2 separate regions of the Homo sapiens genome follow, and region 1 is linked to region 2. Evidence: promoter capture Hi-C in 16 types of primary human blood cells and fetal thymus (Javierre and others, 2016). All regions are on one chromosome and are shown on one strand. Each heading gives the region's core, a stretch centred on a gene start or on the middle of the fragment in contact. The rest is flanking DNA. Distances are from core to core; before and after follow the strand shown. Region 1 holds the start of LINC00487 (long intergenic non-protein coding RNA 487). Region 2 holds the start of DCDC2C (doublecortin domain containing 2C).

Region 1 (3,287 bases), core at 337-2,836, 3.1 Mb after region 2:
ACTCTCCCAGTACCTGCCCTTGTGCATTTGTCATAGGATTAGAAATGAGTAGCCAGCATGCTCATGGCCGTGTATTACAGCATAAATATTCAGAAACTTGCTTTAGACATCACTTACAGATTCTTTCCTGAAACTTCACATAGAACGTACAGAAACACAAGTATTGTGTGAAGCAGTTGTGGGGCCAGGGAGGTGCCCGGGCTTTGAGGGCACGTAGCCTTTGCCATGCAATAGCTTCTGGAATTACACGCATGGCCTGCTCCCCAGCTTCCCCACCAGCAGGGACTGGGGCGTGGACCGGGGATGGAGACTGGGGGTGGGGGTCCACCTGTGGACCTCCGATAGGAGGGAGCTGCTTGGCCCTTCTCTGGCCCATCTCTGGCAGGCAGTTGCTGGACAAACTGCAGAGGTCTCCACCTGCAGCATCCAAGGCACACAGGCTCTTCATAAAAATCCCTTTCTCCTGTCCCCTTCCAATTGGTGGCAGCTGCCACTCAGCATCTTTGGTTTTAAACAGTGAAATGGCTTCCCAGATGTCAGGGGGGAAAATCAGTGCAAGGCCTAGACTCGGAATTCCAAGTCGCCCCATCCAGATAGCTGCACCGAGAAGAGAGAAGACACAGGACCGTTTTGTCGTTTTCATTTCCGTTTTCTTTTACTAGGAAATTGAAATCGGGTTTCTGGTCTCCGCACTACGGGCTCAGAGGGTTCTTTGGTGTTGGGGAGGCATCGAGCCTTTGGTGCTGCACACACCCTAAACCCTGGCTCCACCCGTAGATGCCAAGAGCCCCCTCCAGCTGCGATCGCCAAAAATGTTTCCAGACTTTCCACCTACCTCCAGGGGCAAAATCACCTAGGATGAGAACCACATAATTCAGGGGCGTCCAGTCTTTTGGCTTCCCTGGGCCACATTGGAAGAAGAATTATTGTCTTGGGCCACACATAAAATACACCACACTAGCAATAGCTGATGAGCTAAAGAAAATCATAGCTGAGAAATCTCAATGTTTTTAAAAGGTTTACAAATTTGGGTTGGGCTGCATTCAAAGCCACCCCAGGCCACATGGGCTGCAGGTTGGACAAGTTTGAAATAAGTTATGCTATGGCAAACAATAAGCTGATATTATACAAATATTTTACTTACAAAAAAATAACTACCATAAAAAGATGTACGTGGAGGCGTGTGTGTGTGTGTGTTGGGTTGTGTGGGAAGGGGTGTGAGCATATGTGTGTGTTGAATGTGGGTGTGTGTGTGTTGGGTTGTGTGGGAAAGGGTGTGAGCAAGTGTGTGTGTTGAATGTGGGTGTGTGTGTGTTGGGTTGTGTGGGAAGGGGTGTGAGCATGCGTGTGTGTTGAATGTGGGGGTGTGTGTGTTGGATTGTGTGGGAAGGGGTGTGAGCAAGTGTGTGTGTTGAATGTGGGTATGTGTGTGTTGTGTGGGATATAAGTCTGTGTAATGTGTGTTACATATGATGCATGTGTTTATGTGTGTAGTGTGGGTGTTGGTGTGTGTGTATGTATGTATCTGTGTGTTTACATCTGTGGTGTATGTGTATGCATGTTTGTGTAGTGTGTGTTAGTGTCTGTGTATGTGTGTGGTATCTGTGTATTTTTGTGTGTAGTGTATGTGTGTGCATGTTTGTGTAGTGTGTGTTAGTGTCTGTGTATGTGTGTGGTATTGTGTGTTTATGTGTGTGGTGTATGTGTGTGCATGTTTGTGTGTGGCATGTGTTGGTGTGTGGCATTTGTGTGTTTATATGTGTGTTGTGTGTATGCATGTCTGTGTGTATATGTGTGGTGTCTGTGTGTTTCTGTGTGTGGAATATGTGTATGCATGTTTGTGTGTTGCATGGTGTGTGTATGTATGTGTGTGATATCTCTGTGTTTGTGTGTGTGGTGTCTGTGTATTCATTTTGTGTGTGTGGTGTGCACGTGTGTGGCATGCGTGTGTTTAAGTGTGTGATATATACATACACACGTGTGTGTTTATGTGTGTGGTGTATGTGTATTCATTCTGTGTGTGTGGTGTGCATGTGTGTGGCATATGTGTGTGTACGTGTGTGGTATATACATACACACATTTATGGATGGGGGTGTGTGTGTGTTGTGTGGGATATAAGTCTGATGAGGTAAAGAAGCTCCAGGAGATTCTCTTTGGTTGAATCTCATGCCATGAGACTTGGCTTCTGGCCACGATGGAGTGAGAAGCCTGGACTGACCTTTCTGCCTGGAGCAAGGGAACACCGTGTAGAACCGGCACGGCGCATCTTCCAGACGGCAGTGCCCAGGCTGCTTGGCAGGCACCCCTGCAGGAGGGGTCAGGGAGGTGGGCACCCAGCGGTCCCTCAGCACCCGTCCCGTGTGGCACAGTCCAGCCGCCTCCCAGGGCCGAGGAGGGGAGACGCAGGCTCCTGGGCTGCTCCCACCCAGGCCCCTGGAACAGCGCATCTTCTGTGACCGTGGTGAAGGAAAATCTCAGCCTCTGCTTCCCACCTCCTCAGCCCCTGCCTCAACAGGAAGCCCACAGCGCAAGAGACGCCATTCTAGGGCCAGGAAGGAAGAGCCTCAGACCCTGGAATTGCCATGTACAAACTAGACGTGTATTTATGGTGTGTCTGAATGTACAACAATTTCCTGTTTCGGAGAAAATAGTTCCTTCCTGGAAGGGCTGTTCTGTATTTGCACACTTTTCCCATGTGATTTTGGGGAAAAGTACCTGACTTTCTGTGAATAGACGCACTTTTTCTTACCGAAAATAATGATAGTTTCAATCTGGCTATAATCGTTCATATTCATGATTTTTTTCGGATGTAGAAATCAGCAGTTTTGCATTGTAAGACCTCACCCATCCACCACTCACCGTCCCCACACCCCTGGGAACAGGAGGAACCTCACAGAAGAAGAAGGTGGATTTTACTACCTACTTGCCACACCTCAATCTCTCTGTCTGTAAGCAGAGAGAATACGGTAATAATAATATTAATAATGATAATAATAATACCTTTCTCACAAGTTCGCAGGGAGGGATGAGTTCATGCACATAAAATGCTCAGCCCAGCACAGCTGAGCACACGATTCTCAGCACTATTACTTGCATTCTTGTCACTGAAAGGAAGAGGGAACGGAGTGTGACAGCGCAGGTTAGACCCCCGGCGCAGCCATCCACCTGCCACTTTGTCACAGGGACTCCACGACTAACTGCCGCCCTATTTTCCCATAAGCAGGCAATGGTGATGATAAAATCATTCTCAAAGCTTAGGGAGGCCAGGACCCAACCCAGGGCCGAT
Region 2 (2,907 bases), core at 76-2,575:
TTTTAAAGCCCCTTCGGTTAAGTCTAAGCCAAAGGTTTGCCCGGGCCGTGGGCTCATTCGGCCACACATGTCCTGTTAACAGACTAGGACCTCTGCATCTGCTTGCTTTTCAGTTGTCTCCCAACCAAAGTCATCTGTTCGATAGCCTGACCCTAGAGCTCCAAGATGTCATCACTCACGCCAGGCTCACCATCGTCCCCGACGGGGGAGTGAGCCGCCTTCGGCTCCGGGGCTTCCCCAGCTCCATCTGCCTCCTGAGGCCCCGGGAGAAGCCCATGTTGAAGTTCTCGGTGAGCTTCAAAGCAAACCCTTAACACACACAAAGCCCCGGTGTCGGACACACAGCAGTAATTTCCCAGTCATAGTCTTCTTTTCAAATGTTTTGAACACCTGGTGATTTAATAAAGTGGTCGTCTCACAAATTGATCTCTGTATTTAATGTTGCTATGAGGCATTTAGTAGCTTACATACTGGCTATGGCTGTGACTGGTGGTCTCTACGGAACTACTTTTTTTGAACATTATAAGATATTAATACTCATAATATCAATATCTGTACCTTCGGTGTGGACTTCCAGCCGTAACATGTAGCCTACTGACTGTCTAGAATCACTCAAGGGGACTGGCCTATCTTTACCCAGAGTAGGAACGATTCTTCCAAAGACCCCCTCTCCCTTTGAATCATTCCCCAATGAGGATGCGTTCTGAATGGCACGCGCCTGACACCGCACACCAGCGGCTATAGCGCGGTTCCTCACGGCCTCCCAGTGGCTCTGCACACCTCCTCCTCTGGTGGAAAAGCTCAAATTCCCCACTCTGGGCCAGGAGTCCTGGAAGACACTGGGGCTGAACCGGTCAAATTCAACCTAAGATCAAAGAAACAGAGGCTCAAAAAATGTGAAGCAGATCCCAGCACCCATCCAATGTTGATTGTCAAGATGGTCCTGGTCCCTCCCTAACCCTCCTCTCTACCGCTTCTACAGAGGAAGGCGGCGAGTGTAGGGGGAGGAGGCACGGTGGGCGTCCCGGGGCGCTCAGCACAATCATGCTAGCCGCCTCCTCCTCCTCTTTTCCTGAGCTCTGCCGCCACGCCCCTCACCTGCCCGGGCTCCCCGTTGCCCCCTCACCTGTCTCCGCCCTGTGCCGCGCCTCACCTGCTTGGGCTCCCCATTACCCAATCACCTGTCCCTGCCCCGTGCCGCCTGCTCACCTGCCCGGGTTCCCCGTCGCCCCGTCTCCTGCCCCGGCCCCGAGCCCCTCGCCCTGGCGGCCAGGCGGTCACAATCGCCCAGGGTCGCGTCAACACGCAGCCTCCGCCCGCCTGGCAGCCCCGTCCCGTCCCCGTCCAGCCCCCGTCCCGTCCCCGTCCCGTCCCCGTCCTGCGCCAGCGGCTGGAGCGGACCTCCCGTCGGCGGTGCCCGGGCCTGGGCGCGGCTCTGCAGGCGTCGCTGCCCGCGCTGCCGCAGCCTCTCGGCCCCGGCGAGCGAGGAGCGGGGCGCGGCTATGGGAACCCGCGGGCCCTCCGCGCCGGTGGACACCACGCCCGCCAAGACCATCGTGGTGTACCGCAACGGGGACCCGTTCTACGTGGGCAAGAAGTTCGTGCTGTCGCGGCGCCGCGCGGCCACCTTCGAGGCGCTGCTGGAGCAGCTCACGGAGCAGGTGGACGTCCCGTTCGGCGTGCGCCGCCTCTTCACGCCCACGCGTGGGCACCGGGTGCTGGGGCTGGACGCGCTGCAGGCGGGCGGCAAGTACGTGGCGGCGGGCCGCGAGCGCTTCAAGGAGCTCGAGTAAGTGCGCCCGCGCCCCCCACGCGCCCTGCGCCCCTCCCCGCCCTCTTGGGTCTGAGCGTGGTCAGGGCCGTGCCCCCCAGGTGTCCTCCCCAGGCTTCCCTCCCGGCTCGGGCGCCCATCTTTCGGCGTGGATCCAGCGCAGCCGGCGTCGGGCCGCCCCAGGCCACGTGGTTTCCTGGGGGCGAAGCCGAGGCAGCCCCGCCCCCAGGGTCCCTTCCTATGGGGCAGGGCGGGCCCTGGCCGGCAGCGATTCAGGACCGCCCCAGAGACGGCCAGGAGGGCGTGGGGGAGGGGCGTGGGGCAGAAACAGGGGTGTGGAGGAGGGCGTGGGGGAGGGGTGTGGAGAGGGGCGTGGGGGGCGTGGGGGAGGGGTGTGGAGAGGGGCGTGGGGGAGGGGTGTGGAGAGGGGCATGGGGGAGGGGTGTGGAGAGGGGCGTGGGGGGCGTGGGGAGGAGTGTAGGGGAGGGGGAGGGGGGAGGGGCGTGGGGGAGGGGCATGGGGCAGAAACGGGTGTGGAGGAGGGCATGGGGGAGGGGTGTGGAGAGGGGCGTGGGGGGCGTGGGGGAGGGGTGTGGAGAGGGGCGTGGGGGAGGGGTGTGGAGAGGGGCATGGGGGAGGGGTGTGGAGAGGGGCGTGGGGGGCGTGGGGAGGAGTGTAGGGGAGGGGGAGGGGGGAGGGGCGTGGGGGGGAGGGGCGTGGGGGGCAGGGCCTGGGAATGGGGCGGGTTGGGCAGTTCCCATTTGAAATCGCTCAGGGTGACCCCTCTCACTCTGTGTCCATCACTTGGTCCTGCGTGCATTTTCAAGCTTGCCTTTAATTAAACTATTGCCCTCCCACGGTTTGTGTCTGTAATCCCATTATTGCAGCCTGTGTCTGCTTTCTGTGATCTCAGCTGCTTTTCTCTCCTGATTCTCTGTTTCCTTGTAGGTTTACTTATTTTTTGACTGTGAACTACTCCTTTTGTATAGCTTTGTGTGGGGACATTCTTCAGGGCTGAGATAAAAGTGAGATTCCCCAGAGAGAATTTCCATTTTCTTCTTTCAAATGCTCTCCGTTCAAAAATGCTCTGAATTAAATCAGCAGCTTGAGTTTTGTTTGTTGTTTTTTGAAAAAGT

What was found. The method cuts DNA at HindIII sites, captures the fragments that hold promoters and counts their contacts. A CHiCAGO score of 5 or more calls a contact.
Region 1: a contact is called between a fragment that was not itself captured here and the fragment with the promoter of DCDC2C in region 2, in 1 of 17 cell types (endothelial precursors). The highest score is 5.3, in endothelial precursors.

Annotation. Positions count from the first base shown.
Region 1 is chr2:6,767,860-6,771,146 of GRCh38, forward strand. It overlaps LINC00487 (long intergenic non-protein coding RNA 487), which reads right to left and starts at 2,452. Exons shown (of 6, transcript NR_038369.1): 1 at 2,220-2,452. The HindIII fragment of the contact is 3,332 bases long and covers 1-3,252 here.
Region 2 is chr2:3,702,250-3,705,156 of GRCh38, forward strand. It overlaps DCDC2C (doublecortin domain containing 2C), which reads left to right and starts at 1,326. Exons shown (of 11, transcript NM_001287444.2): 1 at 1,326-1,789. The coding sequence starts at 1,503. ALLC (allantoicase) reads left to right here. Exons shown (of 12, transcript NM_018436.4): 12 at 114-422. The coding sequence ends at 314. LOC105373393 (a long non-coding RNA gene) reads right to left here and starts at 1,251. Exons shown (of 3, transcript XR_922732.1): 1 at 1,210-1,251; 2 at 559-865; 3 at 311-390. The HindIII fragment of the contact is 3,644 bases long and covers 1-2,596 here.